Linked DNA regions of Homo sapiens: regions 2 and 3 are each linked to region 1. The links are contacts of gene promoters, found by promoter capture Hi-C in human tissues and cell types (Jung and others, 2019). All regions are on one chromosome and are shown on one strand. Each heading gives the region's core, a stretch centred on a gene start or on the middle of the fragment in contact. The rest is flanking DNA. Distances are from core to core; before and after follow the strand shown.

Region 1 (4,927 bases), core at 1,273-3,772:
GCGCCATCTCAGCTCACTGCAAGCTCCGCCTCCCAGGTTCACGCCATTCTCCTGCCTCAGCCTCCCGAGTGGCTGGGACTACAGGCGCCCACCACCATGCCCGGCTAATTTTGTGTATTTTTAGTAGAGACGGGGTTTCATCATGTTAGTCAGGATGGTCTCGGATCTCCTGACCTCGCGATCCGCCTGCCTGGGCCTCCCAAAGTGCTGGGATTACAGACATGAGCCACCACGCCCGGCCTATATACTACATTTTCTTTATCCACTCATTAGTTAATGGGCGCTTAGGTTGGTCCCATATTTTTGCAATTGCAAATTGTGCTGCTATAAACATGCATGTGCACGTGTCTTTTTCATATAATGACTTCTTTTCCTTTGGGTGGATACCCTGCCATGGGAATGATGCATCGAATGGTAGCTTTAGCTCTACTTCTAGTTCCTTAAGGAATCTTGCTGTTTTCTATAGTGGTTGTACTAGTTTACATTCTCACCAGCAGTTTTATGCATGTTCCCTTTTTGCCACATCCACATCAAAATCTATTATTTTTTGACTTTTATGACAATTCTCGCAAGAGTAAGATGGTATCTTATGGTGGTTTAATTTGTATGTCTCTGATAATTAGTGATGTTGAACATTTTTTCATATGTTTGTTGACTGTATATCCTCTTTTGAAAATTGTCTATTCATGTCCTTTGCCAATTTTTTGATGGGATTGGTTTTATCTGGCTGATCTGTTTGGGTTCCTTGTAGATTCTGGATACTGGTCCTTTGTCAGATGCACAGTTTGTGAATATTTGCTCGCACTCTGTGGATTGTCGGTTTACTCCGCTGATTATTTCTTTTGCTGTGCAGACCCTTTTTAGTTTAATTAGGTCTCATTTATTTATTTTCATTTTTGTTACATTTGCTTTTGAGGTCTTAGTCATGATTTCTTTGCCTGAGCTAATGTCTAGAAGTGTTTTTCTCATGTTATCTTCTAGAATTTTTATGGTTTCAGGTCTTAGACTTAAGTCTTTGATCCATCTGGAGTTGATTTTTGTGTAAGGTGAGAGACGAGGATCCAGTTTCATTCTACATGTCCACTTCAGCCTTTTGAGTAGCTGGGACTACAGGTGTGTGCCACCACATCTGGCTAATTTCAAAATATTTATTTAGTAGAGACAAGGTCTCGCTATGTTGGTCCAGTCTCTAATTCCTGGCCTCAAGTAATCCTTCCTCCTCTTTCTCCCAAAGTGCTGGGTTTAAAGGTGTGAGGCACCACGTCTGCCCTATTCTCATTATTGAATCTATAAAGTTCTTGGCATGGGCTCTGTCTCAGGGAGCAGTGCAGGGCTAAGTCCAGAATCCAGGTCTCCTCACCCAAGCCCTGGCTCTCAACTACCCCTCAGGGGTCTCTGCCCTCCTGTGGAAGAGAAGTTCCAGTTCCATGACAGGCAACTTGTCAGGATAAGCATCCAGAAACTGACCCGCCATCAGTGGCACTTTGACAACTGTCTTCTTAATTCAAGGTTCACTTAGCATAGGTCTCATAACTGCTTTGCTCAGAGCTGGCCTGCTGGCCTGCAGTTTAAAGAGAAAGGATGCTATGGCCAGGATCCTCAGTGTCACAAGAGAGGAAGTCAGGGAATCACAGAACCTTACAGCCAGAACAGACCCTGGAGAGCGGGAGGTCTGCTCTCCTTTCAGAAAGAGAAGCTAAGGCCCAGAGCAGGGAAGTGGCTTGTCCAGGGTCACACAGCTGAGCAAAGTGACAAACCTGGACCAGGAGCCAGCCTTCAGGTCAGCAGTCTGGTGCTCTTCCCACCTCAACCTGCTCTCCTCTTTCTTAAAGAAAAAGAAAGAGAAGGTGTTTCAGTAGTGAGTGTGGGATAGCCACCCACTTCACCATGGTTTGGAAGCATCTCTCCATCCCTCCTCTCACTCAACAGCTGTGGCAGAACAGTCAGGGCCTGCCTGACCTCTTGAGTTTTATTGTCTCCTCTCAACTTGGGCTTAAAGGGACTTTATTAACCATGACTAATACCAGAGGATCCAAAGCTGCACCCACTTGTTAATTTTGAGGAATTTTTAAATGCGGGATTTAAAAAAGATTTAATTTCACGCATAGGTATGAACAGCCCCTCATCATCCCAGGTAGAGGATGAACAACTCATCATCCCGGGTAGAGGCAGGTAAGTGTGTCCAGCGTCCCTCAGGGAATGCTCTTCTGATGCCAAACCCTCTGCTTCCGCGGGGTCACTTCTCGGGTGGTTTTGTTTCTCCTCTGCTTCCACAGTTGCAAACCCTCGAAGTGCCACGACCCCTGGGGAAACTCGATCTTAAGTCCCATGGCCAAACGCTCCAGCCCGCGGGGCTCTCAGGACACCACAGCGATCGGATTTCGCGTGGCCGCCAGGCTCCCCCTACTCCTGTCCCCTCCCGCCAGAGAACCCCTGGAGCCAATCAGAGCGTCGCGGAGCCCGGGGTTGTAGAGTCCCGAGCCCGGGACCCGCCCCTCTTTGTTGCGGTGGCCAATAGACGCATTCGGAACATCGGCGGCTGCCCGGGTGACTTGGTTATATGTCACAGAATAACATTCGAGAATGGGACATGGAATGAGGCGACGGCCCCAGCAAGCCCCAGCAGCCCCAGCCCCAGCCCCAGGCCCAGCAGCAGCAGCAGCAGCCCCTGCTCTCCCGCCGCCCGGAGAGGCTCTGCAGCCATGAAGCCAACCGTCCCGAGGTAGGATCTTGGAGCTGCCGCGCGCCCTTCCTGCGCGCCGCCCGCCTGCAGCCAGTCCCTCCCGGTGATAGGCGCTGGAACTCGGGGAAAAGGGGGCGGATGGAGCTCTTTCCACTAGATCCCCGCCGGGGTCCGGGAGGGCTTCCTGGAAGAAAGCGGGCCGCCTTGCAAGCCAAGGCTGCTGCAGCGCCCTCGCGCCAGCTCTGGGCGCTCACATGCCAGCACGTTCGTGGCTCCCCTCCTCTCTTGGCCACATCTGAGGACCCAGGAATGTGTGGAGCCTTGCGGGAACCTCCTGTTCCTTCATGCTACACAAGCTGTCTTTCTTCTCCCCACATCTTGCGCTCCGCATCCCCCAAGCTCCTTGTGCCCCTCCATCCCCAACCCCCCGGGTTTAGGTGTGTGTGAAGCTTCGTGGCACATTTTGAGCTGCCTTTCTAGGTAATCGCAGGGCTGGAAGCCCGTCATCGATTCTCAGGGAGGCTGTCAGCGTGCAGGGGGGAGCGGGGAGTGTCGTGGAGACACTCCGGGACCCCTCACTCGGTTCCGCTGTGCGTCCACTTAGCTGTGGTGTCAGCTGTGTCTCCGCTGATTTCAGGCACCGCCGGTAAGCAGGGAGCCTCCGCGGAGCTCCCGCCGCCGCTCCCCCTTGGTGAGTCCTGCCGCAGCGAGAGGCATGGAGAAGGCCGCCCCCGCGGGGCGCTGATCCCCTCGCCGCGCCCGCGCGCACACGCCCCCCGCCGCCGCCGCCGCTGCCGCCGCCGCGCGCCCCCAGTACCTCGCTCCCCGCCCAGGCCCCACCATGACCGGCTCCGCGGCCGACACTCACCGCTGCCCCCACCCCAAAGGCGCCAAAGGCACCCGGTCCCGGAGCAGCCACGCGCGGCCCGTGAGCCTCGCCACCAGCGGGGGCTCAGAGGAGGAGGACAAAGACGGCGGGGTGCTGTTCCACGTCAACAAGAGCGGCTTCCCCATCGACAGCCACACCTGGGAGCGCATGTGGATGCACGTGGCCAAGGTGCACCCTAAGGGGGGAGAAATGGTGGGCGCCATCAGGAACGCCGCCTTCTTGGCAAAGGTCAGTGGCTTCCAGGGCGGAGTTGGGGGGCTGGGGGTAGGTAGGCAGCGATGGGACCGTTTCAGCCTATACATAGCAAACACAGGCAATCTCCATTTTCCTAGTCCTGCTACAAACTCCCTTCCTCTCCCCATTCCTTCCTGCCAGCCCTTTTCTAATTGAGATATTTAGATTGGAAGCCTAAGAAATGGGGAAGGGAGAGGTAGCGGGCTTGCTATCCTGGGACTGTGTAATTGGATTGTGCCAAGGTGTCTTTGAAGCTCCAGCCAAACTCTATTATTTACTCACCCCCACATACATCCTCCTTCAGCAAAAGCTAGAGCCACCAGGTACCAGCGATGCCAAAGAATGCACAGACCCCAGGGATCCCACCCTGCTTGTTCTCTTTGGAGTGTCTTGCTCCTCCTCTGCTCCCCTCTTCCCCCAGCAAATGATTTATTAAGCTGTGAATGAATTTGAAATCAACCAGTCAGACTTCTCAGTGTGAATAATTTCCAGACTTTTTGCCAGTTTTTTTTCTTTTCTTTCTGGTTTTTTTGTGTGTGTGTGTGTGACAGTGACTTTCACCTCTGAAACTTGCAAAACGGTGAACTCTCTCTCTCTCTTCCCAGCTTATTTGTGCTCCAAGAAAAAAGAAAGACTTTTGGCTGAGACTTAAAAGGGACTTTCCAGTACACATGATGAATTAGTCTCACTGGATAGAAAAAGAGGATGAGGAGTGAAACTCTCTTTTTGCCTTGGAGAGAAGCCAGTGAGCCATTTGGGTTTGGTGGCTAAGGATATCTTTACCGAGGGAGGGAGATGTACCCTGGTGGGAGTAGATACGTTATATGAAACATCAAAATGCAAACTGGGGAGAAATGCTGCCGAGCCTCGGGGTTATAGCGTGGCGGATGGTTTCCCCTGGACCCTGGGGACGCTGGTACGGCTGAGAAGATTCCTGGGCAGGTCTAGGAATGCCAGACTTGAGACCCGGAAGGCCATCTGGTTGATTCCCCAGCCTGGTGACAGCTGAGCATCTGAGCCTGCAGGCCAGAAAGCTGTGTGTGTCCTTGGAGAAGTGACAGAGCCTCTAAACTTCCTGCTGCAGTCAGTTACAGTGTTCTATTACTCTGCTGGTCAAGGAG
Region 2 (4,927 bases), core at 1,434-3,933, 330 kb before region 1:
CCACAATACAGTGCCTCACTTTTCTTTAAGACCTTTTGCTTTGCCAACCTTAACCTTAAGAATCCACCTCCCCATCCCCTGCCAAAGACTGGGGTGAAGAAACGCACCTGGCTACAGTTACCTTTCTCATTCCCATTGCTTGGGCCCAACTTCGGGGGAGAAGCTTCAGAGATGTATTTGCTAAATTCAAGGATTCCCCACTTTTTGCTTTTACTTCCACTCACTGATAGTTTCAGCTTGACGTCAAGCCTCTTTGAAAAAGAGGCTTTTTTTTTTAAGTGAAAGAAACTTTATTTTGAGTAATATACAAAAAAAAAAAAAGAGAGAGAGAGAGAAAGAAAAAGAAGCTGAAAATGAGATTACTCATGATTTTTAAAATGGCCTCACTGATTTTTAAAAAATGTTCTTCCTCTTTCAGGACTGTTTGTGGCCACATTTGCACATAGGCACACCAGCCAAAACTCATAGATCTTGTGAATTCAGAGTAGCCTGAAACATCATCCCTTATAAATTTCAAATAGGCATTTTGTTCATGTCACTGAGCTATGTGTATTTTAAGAACCTGCTTTACTTAAGATGAGGATGGCATGAAATGAAAACAAAACAGAAACCCAAGGGCTTATGGGACTTTTCTCTGAGGGTGGGGCTCTGGTGTTGGAGGTCTGGTGGGGGAGGGGGACTTGATCCCATGCCCCAGAGCCCCTGAAACAGTTTGGGTTTCAATGTGTCTTTCAGCAAAATGATGCTTCAACACCCAGGCCAGGTCTCTGCCTCGGAAGTGAGTGCTTCTGCCATCGTCCCCTGCCTGTCCCCTCCTGGGTCACTGGTGTTTGAGGATTTTGCTAACCTGACGCCCTTTGTCAAGGAAGAGCTGAGGTTTGCCATCCAGAACAAGCACCTCTGCCACCGGATGTCCTCTGCGCTGGAATCAGTCACTGTCAGCGACAGACCCCTCGGGGTGTCCATCACAAAAGCCGAGGTGGGTTCTATCACAGGTATTCATTCTTTCGGCACATGTTTCGCTCGCAGCCACTGTGTGTTGGGCATGTTCTAGGCAGGGGGCTGTTGTTGAGAGTGAAACAAACAAAACCACTGCCCTCAGGGAGCTTACCTTCTCCTGGGAGGAGACAGAAGTACATAACATACGTAAGTACACGTTAAGAGATGAGTGCAAAGGAGAAAAAAGCAGGGAGCGGGGCAGAGAGAACGGGTAGGGATGGGGTTGCTGGGTTTAAAAACTTTTCAGGCCAGGCATGGTGGCCCACGCTTATAATCCCAGCACTTTGAGAGGCCAAGATGGGATTATCGCTTGAGTCCAGGAGTTTGAGACCAGCCTGGGCAACACAATGAAACCCAATCTCTATGACAGTATTAGCTGGGCAAGGTGGTACATGGCCTATAGTCTCATCTACTTGCGAGGCTGAGGTGGGAGGACCGCTTGAGCCCAGGAGGTTGAGGCTGCAATGAGCCGTGATCACCTCACTGCACTCCAGCCTGGGTGATGGAGCAAGACTCATTTTGCTTTTAGAGACAGTGTTGCTCCATCACCCAGGCTGGGGTGCAGTGGGGTGATCACGGCTCATTGTAGCCTCAGTCTCCTGGGCTCAAGCGATCCTCCTGCTTCAGCCTCCCAAAACACTGGGATCACAGGGATGAGCCATTGCACCCAGCCGGGGTTGCTGTTTTAAATTAGGAAGTCAGGTAAGGATTCACTGATAGTGACTTTTGAGCAGAGGTCAAAAGGAAAGGAAGAAGGAAAGAGGAGAGGGAAGAAGCCACGTGGGTATCTGGTAAAAGAAATTAAGGGCACTGAGGTGGAAGTATTGGTGCCTGGTGGGCTGTGCAGTGGGGCAGAGTATAGGGGTGGGAGATAAATAGGGGCTGGTCATATTGGGTCTTACAGATTATTATTGTATAGATGCAGCCCTGGGCTCAAAGTGAGGTGGGAAACCACAGAAGGCTTTTGAGCAGAGAAGCAACAAGATTCAACACACACACACACACACAGATACACACACACACTTTTTTTTTTGAGACAGAGTCTTGTTCTGTCACCCAGACTGGAGTGCAGTGGCATGATCTTGGCTCACTGCAACCTCTGCCTCCCAGGTTCAAGGGATTCTCATGCCTCAGTCTTCCAAATAGCTGGGATTACAGGTGCCCGCCACACGTCTGGCTAATTTTTGAATTTTTTTAGTAGAGACGGGGTTTCTCCATGTTGGCCAGGCTGGTCTCGAACTCCTGACCTCAGGTAATCCGCCCGCCTCGGCCTCCCAAAGTGCTGGGATTACAGGTGTGAGCCACCACGCCCAGCCTTGATTTATATTTTTAAATGATCACCCTGGCTGTCATGTTGAGAATGGGCAGTAGGGGTAAGACAGAAGCTGAGTGCACAGAAAGGAGGCCGTGGCAGGAATCCACGTGAGTCAGGGGGCCTGCAGCAGGAGGGAGCAGTGCAGGTGCTGAGAAGTGGTTGGCTTTGGATCTGACTTGAAGGTAAAGCTGATTTGCTGATAGATTGGATGTGGGGTGTAAGAGAAAGGGAAGACTCAAGGGTGACTGAGTTTTCTGGCCAGCATAGCTGTAAGAATGGAGCGTCCATTTGCTGCTGAGATTTGGGATTATAGGGGTTAGGGTGGTGGCAAGAGCAGGAGGTCTGTCCTATTCTGCAGACCCCTGTGGAGATGTCAAGCAGGCAGTTGGATATGTGAGTCTGGAGTTCAGAGGACAGTCTGGGCTAGAGATAATAGAGTTGGAAATTATCGGCATATAGATGGCACTTAAAGCCATGAGTCAGGATGAGGCCACCTTCTGTGTCCAGTTGTTCTGAAGAAGCTTGGAGCGTGGTGGTCCCTGTTTTTATCACTACTAGGACCCAAGCACCCAGACAGTAGAGCAAGGACCAGGCAGCCTGCCCCACCCTTCCCTGTAGCAATGTTCACAGCCTTGGGACCAGGTGTTGCTCCAGGTTCACTTCTGTCTGACACACTTGCACTGTTCCACGCTTGGCAACCTTGGGTAAGACTCCTGGAATAATAAACATGGTGAGAAGTCTGGGAGGTGGCTTCTGGCGATGCCATAGTGGCTTAAGGATGTCAGAGCTGAGGTTCCACCATTTTATTGGCCTTTTCCTCATGGTGGCAAGTGGAAGTGTTTCAGGCTTACTCAACTGGCATGATTGCAGCCTTTGGGCAAGGAGTAGTGGGACTGACCTAAAAGACTGTCCTAGTTCACCACTTGCAGGTGGCACCCCAGCATGGGCCGATTAATGCCGCTTTGGTTGGGAATGGGCTTAGGTGCCTTTTCTACAGGAGCATCATGGGCTTCTCCCAAATTTGGGAAGCTGGTGCTCTGATGCTCCAGGTGAAGTCAGAGGTGAATGGGGTTGCCCTTGGGTCTTGAATTGAAGAAGAGGCCGGGAGTGGGTGGCTAGGTAATGATCCTGAGATCATTCCTGGTTCTCAAAGAAAGGAGATGTTTACCAGACAGAATCTGTTTCGGCTTTAAATGATTATAGTTAATACCAATAGTTATCAATTTGCATATTATCCTCATCTCAAAATCCAAATGCATTTTTAAAATTGGCTAACTTTTAATTTACTAATATATTGCCGGTATAATTTTAACTTTGATTTTTGTTGTTCACTCACGTGTGTGTGTGTGCGTGTGTGTGTGTGTGTGTGTAGGGGTTTTCACACAAAAGTCTAGAGCTTTAGTATTTCGGGGTCTTTTAGCGCTAGCATTGCCCTTGTCTGCCAGCTTTTGCTGGCAGTAAAAGGCAGTGTATTTGAGGTAGGTGGCATTTCTTACTGCCCTTTAAATGTGTTTCTTTTGGATTTTACAGGTAGCCCCTGAAGAAGATGAAAGGAAAAAGAGGCGACGAGAAAGAAATAAGATTGCAGCTGCAAAGTGCCGAAACAAGAAGAAGGAGAAGACGGAGTGCCTGCAGAAAGTGAGTGCCTTCTAGCCTTACCCTTCCTCTCGCTCACGCCTGTCTTCACCAGCTTCATGTGGCTATCAGAAGAAGAGTTAGAAAACCCCCTACTTGGTTATAGTTTCCCAAGAAGGGCCTTGTAGCTGGTAGCAGAAATGCCAGTTGCAGAATGAGGAGGTGGCAAAGCAGTTAACACAATGGATGTGACGGTGGATGTATAAAAACAGGTGTGTGAATTCGTCTGATGCCTGACTCCCAGCAGCCTCGGCCGGTTCATACATGTCCATCAGCTTCCAGGCTGCAGGACATGCCAGCCCAGTTAAAGAGGCTTCACTTGACTGTTTTCCTGAGAAAAGGAAGCTGCCAGCTCTCATTTGGCTCACTATGAAAAGCCTTTAATTAATCTCTTCAAACAAGTTATTTCCTTAATCCACAAGCAGTGGTTACACTTGCTTTGCATTCTTGTCTGGTTCCTAACTCTAGAGCCCTTCTCCCTGGCTTAGCCAGTAAGCTGAGCCCCTGGCTGCGTTCAGCCGGCCCGCCTGAGAGACACTAGGGGAAATAGCTTTTGTGGGCAAGCAGGGTGGCCGGTGGTGCTCAGCAGTCTTTCCAGTGGCTGTGTCCCTCCTCCAAATGTGGACAGGCCATGACAGAGTCTTAGCCCAAGTCCCACAGATCCCCAAAAGTTCTGTTGATTGCTTCAGGGGATCAGTGAAAATTAGGGAATTTTGTGTGTTGCTATATACATTTTTTCTGGGGAGATGAGCTTCTCATTGAGATCTGTGACTCAGAATCGACTAAGCCACCATAAGTCTGGATTTCTCCCCAGCTCCCAAGGCCCTTTTGGGTCCAGAAGACCTGCATATGGGCTGTTGACTCATGCAAATGAGGTATCTGAACTGCAGCTTCAGTATTAGCAGAGCCACAGGCCGCCTCTGTGGCATCACCAGGGTTTCTCTGAAGAAGAGGGTCTGCATTTTCCTAAACCCAGTG
Region 3 (4,927 bases), core at 1,163-3,662, 280 kb before region 1:
TTCCTGACTTTTCTATCTCTGAGAGTCAAGTCTTTCTTCCACATCTCTGTCTTGCACTGCAGTTCCCCAGTGCGCAATCATTCCATGTGTGTTGACGGACTGCAGGGCACATTGGCTCTGAAGGCTTTACCAAGCTGGCTCTCAGTCATATATATATTTTTTTAATTTTTGAGACAGGGTCTCACTCTGTTGCCCAGGCTGGAGTGCAGTGGCACAATCATGGCTCATAGCAGGCTCGAACTCTGGGGTTCAAGCGATCCTCCCACCTCAGTCTTCTGAGTAGTTGGGACTACAGGTGCCTGCCACCACACCTGGCTAATTTTTATTTTATATTTTAGAGATGGGGATCTCATCATGTTGCCTGGAGCTGATCTCAAACTCCTGTGCTCAATCAATCCTCCCTCCTAGGCCTCCCAAAGCGCTGGGATTGCAGGAGTGAGCCAACAAACCTGGCCTCAATCAGGTCTTTAACCGTCCAATTTATTCAATTCTGCCAGAGGGCCCCCTGCTGAAGCTGTTCACAGATTGCTCTGATATCATTAAAAAGCTAACCACATATGCAAATGAAGTGTTGGAGGTGTGAGGGTGGCTTGGGGTAGACAGTGCTTCTGGTTCATCTAGGAAGGCTTCCTGGTGGGGGAAGGGGAGGGGCTGAAGTTGTCATTGAAAAGGATGGAGTTTGATACAATGAGGGGGGTGGTGTGGTTTTAGGCCATAACCCTCCCTTTCCTGGGGCAGGTCCTCACATGAGTCATTCCAGAGTTCCCTTGCTGGTCAGTGGGAACATTCTAGTGTGTGACATCTCCCTGGCAACAAGCTGAGTTCCTGGAAAACAACAATCACAGAGAGACAGTCCACCACCTCTACCCTCTTAACTCTTCCTTAGAAATCCTACTGTCTGCAGCTGGGAATGAATGGAATGAAGGTCAAGGATGAAGTAATAACCAAATATTGGGTTTTGGGTGCCCTGGTAACTGTCCGGTTTCCAGTTAGGGTTCCTGGGTGACATCTTCCTTCTGGGGGAAGACAGAGTCAAATGAGAAACGTGAGTTGAGCCCAGGGGAAAGGATCATCCGGGAGATGCCTGAGGGGCTCCAGGGCATCGTAATCTCTTGCTCAGCTGGCAGAGTGGGGCTGACACGGCCAGCTGCTCTCTGGAGTCCTCGGCCTTCCTGTTTCCCCCTGAGGACTTTGAGTGGGGAATCTAAACCATATGTCTCTGATTCATTTACTGTGAACTCATCAAGTTGCTGTTTGGCAAGAGTCCTTGGATGTCTCGGAAGAGCTTTTGGTTTGGTTTCATTTGTTCTTTCTAGTGCTTTTCCTTTGAAATAGGAAGTTTATGTTTGCCAAAAATAAGTTGAAAAGCTAGATTTGATATTGGATCAGAGCATAAAAAGAAATCAAGAAGATATTATCCTTTGTGTTTCCCTATTTTTAACTTCGCAATGCAGGCAAGTCATAGCTGACATTTAATTCTGCGAATTGGGTGCTATCATTATCCCCATTTTACAAATGAGAAAACTAAAGCCTAGAGTGGTTAAGTAAATTGCCCAAGTCCACATAGCTAGTAAAGTGGCAGCTTTATATACGTGCACAGTAGCATCACCAAGGGCCTATCTTGCTTTTAGGGGCCTATGTAAATATTTTAATTTCTTTTAAAATCAGAAAAAATGAACTTGATGTTGAAAGAGAATTTAATGTATTTGTCTTTCTACCAACACAGTCATATAAAGTTTAACCCTTTCAGAAGCAGCACCATCTTGAGTACCAGGGAGAATGAGAGAGAGAATGGAAGGAGCAGTGGTTGGGTGTCCACTGTGCTCGGCGGGGCTGACCACTGTGTGAAAGTGGCCCAGATGCCACGTCAGCCCCCTCACTGAGGGGACTAAGCCCACACCCTAAGATAGAGAAGACTGTATTTAATAAAGTGCCACTGGGCTTTGACTAGGTAGATCACACGAGGCTTCACGAAGGAGCTGGGATTTGAGAAGAGGGTTAAACATGAAAGGATGGGAAAGTAGAGACAATTTGAGGAATGGAGAATTCCCTGTATGGGGGGAGACTGGGGGTAGCTGATGTAGAGGTTGTGTTAATTATTAGTTAAAACTCGGTTTCTAAACTACTTTTGAATTGTATTTTGTTTGTATTTCACTTTGAAGATCTGCATCTAGCTGTTATTTGTTTTCATTCTGTCAGTGATAATTAAAGCTCAATTGTTACTTAAACTCACAAATGATTATCTTCTGTAATAGAAAGGTAAACAGGACTTTTGTTTTTGTTCATTTTGTTATTTCCTGTTAGAGGTTAACTAATATTCATTCTTTAGCAGTTTATGTCTATATAGCAGACATAGATGTAGCAGGTATAGATATTGCTGTTTAGCAGCAATAATTAGGAAATTGTCCAAAAGGTCATAGGAAACCATCTCACTTCCTTATTTTTGCACCAAAATGACATACCAAACATTGCAGTGTGATTTCCATGGAAAGGACTCATGGTTTACAAACAGTGCCCCTCAGAGACAGGACTTGGTAAAGACACCTTGGGGGACAAGGGGGTAGGCAAGGCGGGCAGGGAGTGGCCGGGGGGTAAGCAGCAAGTGGGTGCTGAGGTCCTTTTCCCTGCTTTAACCTGATCAGGCTGTTTACATATGGTAGGGTTTCTAGAAAAGATTTCATTTTTTAAAAGGGGGATCCTCTGAAAAAAATGAATTTGAAAACCACTGCTATAAAAACTTTAAGAAAGTTAAAATCTCTAGGAACTAGGTGGTTTATTTCTTTATTCTCTGCCTATTCCAGGAATAACCTAAGATGGCTTATCAAATATTAATACATATCATTCAGCAAGTTTTGTTAAGCAAAGCAGAAATGGAAAGAAGGAAAAATAATGATAGAGACGTCAGACATCCCCAGGGCAAGGTTCATGCACCAATGTACCCGAGGAGGAGCAGGCCAGCAGGGCTGGGCGGCACAGGCTGCAGCTGGCAGGCCTGGTTCACAGAAGGGTCATGCAGACGCAAGCCATCCTCCCTCTGCAGGATGAGGCGATGGTGGCCTGGGCAGAGCCCTGAGATCCTGTGGAAGCTCCTAGGATATTAGTGAGAGTCCTTGGGAGGTTTGTTTGACTTTGCACAAGCGCGTCGTTCTCCATCCCAGCCACCATCTTTGTCCTTTCCTTCCTTAAAGACGCATAAACCATGGCAAGTGGAGGTCTCTGCCTGCCCACCCGGCTGTCCTCAGTCCTCTGGCCACACACCCTTCACACCCTAGTCACCCCCCAATCAAAAATGATCAAAAGCCAAATTTGATCATTTGTCTTGGGTTTACTCTGGGCCAGGTACAATTCCAAGTACTTCATACATTCAGTCCTCCATGTCTGTGGGTTCAACCAACAGTGGATAGAAAATATTTTTAAAAAACCAAACATCTGTACTGAATATCTACATTTTTTTCTTGTCATTATTCCCTAAACAATAAAGTATAACAACTATTTACATAGCATTTACATTGTATTAGGAATTATAAGTAATCCGGAGTTGATTTAAAGTATACAGGAGGATGTGCATAAGTCAATGTAAATACTAAGCCATTTTATGTCAGGGACTTGAGCGTCTTTGGATTTTGATGTCCATGAAGACTGCTAGGTAAATTACTGTGTGGTTTCTCCCTGAGTCATCAGCGCAGGGATGAGGTTGGAGGAGCGAGGTTTTCCTGCCAGTATTTGGGTTCTCTTTACCCGAAGAAACCAATCCCCGGAAGATACTGAGAGACAACTGTATGTGTTAACACTTTTGATTCACACAACATCCCTATGAGGTGGGTAATATTATCATCCCCATTTAACAGATCAAGAAACCGAGGCACAAAGAGGTTAAACAACTTGCTCAAAGTCATACATCTGGTGACAGAGCCGAGATTTGAAAGCAGTTTGGTTCTGCGCTCTTTCTACTCTACCGTGGAGCCCCAATTTCCCAACTCATTACAACCTGCTGGTTGCAGAGTGGGACGTTATGCTGTCCCTGAGGCTGAAGTCCCAGGTTTTACCCTCAAGTGAGCTACTCAGTCACACCTTGGCCTGTCCTGTTTGGGGGCCACAGATGGCACCTTGCAGTCTGTCCAGCCATTTGTTGATATTGCAGATCCCAAAGAGAACCCAAGGTTGGAAGGAGTAAGGGAGCTCAAGGCAGGCTTTTCTCACAAAGGAAAAGGCAGCAAAGAAGTAGGATATGCAAGACAGGATCTTGGTTGCTCCATGGTTTCATCTTATCAATAATAATTGATGTTATGACAGATACCACTTAGAGCCAGACACTGTTCTAGGCATTTTACATTCATGATCTTATTTAATCCTCAAAGCAACTGAGCAAGGTAGGTATTATTAGTCTCACTGTACCAGGAGGAAATTGAGACCTAGAGGCCACAGTGAATTCATCTCTGCTTTTCCCCAGGCCATAGCACCCAAGTTTTCTACGTGGTCACCACCCTTGTGCCCTCTACACCCATTTGCACAGAAGCTGCTTCATGAGGGTTCTCAGGATCTGTATTTGCTTCTGCTCCTGCCTGTCAGTTCCTCAAAAGCCAAGGCTGTGCTCACTAGTTCTCTTCACGTCCTTCCTCTCTAACTCCAAGAGCCCCACAGAAAGCTCTTCGTAAGGTAGGCTCTGGTTCGATGCTGCAACTTCACAGCTAGGATGACATCAGCAGCTGGCACCGCTGGTGGAAATGCAGAAATGAGGAAACAGCCAAAAACAGAGTTCCCCGATCCTTCTTCACCCCCGACAACTCCTTACTTGCATATATATGCATAAAGGATGAGTCTGCCTAAACACCTTAGAAAAATGCCTACCCTTGAGCGTCCAAGCCTCAGCTGTGTAAATCGTCATGCAAATGAGGCAGCAGCTGTGGGCCTGGTTGCCAGAGCCATT

What was found. Contacts are between HindIII fragments. The study calls those that stand out against the background at their distance.
Region 2: a fragment that was not itself captured here is called in contact with the fragment with the promoter of VASH2 in region 1 in 1 of the 25 tissues and cell types used here (lymphoblastoid cells).
Region 3: a fragment that was not itself captured here is called in contact with the fragment with the promoter of VASH2 in region 1 in 1 of the 25 tissues and cell types used here (spleen).

Annotation. Positions count from the first base shown.
Region 1 is chr1:212,948,019-212,952,945 of GRCh38, forward strand. It overlaps VASH2 (vasohibin 2), which reads left to right and starts at 2,523. Exons shown (of 8, transcript NM_001301056.2): 1 at 2,523-2,722; 2 at 3,321-3,800. The coding sequence starts at 3,525. RefSeq lists enhancers at 2,509-2,658, 3,179-3,228. The HindIII fragment of the contact is 12,745 bases long and covers 1-4,927 here.
Region 2 is chr1:212,614,283-212,619,209 of GRCh38, forward strand. It overlaps ATF3 (activating transcription factor 3), which reads left to right. Exons shown (of 4, transcript NM_001674.4): 2 at 736-979; 3 at 3,845-3,952. The coding sequence starts at 740. Among named protein-coding and RNA genes, the nearest start is that of GARIN4, 7.7 kb to the right of the region's middle. The HindIII fragment of the contact is 5,545 bases long and covers 1-4,927 here.
Region 3 is chr1:212,666,812-212,671,738 of GRCh38, forward strand. No RefSeq gene overlaps it. Among named protein-coding and RNA genes, the nearest start is that of LINC02773, 3.6 kb to the left of the region's middle. RefSeq lists silencers at 454-673, 4,756-4,927 and an enhancer at 4,821-4,927. The HindIII fragment of the contact is 6,400 bases long and covers 1-4,927 here.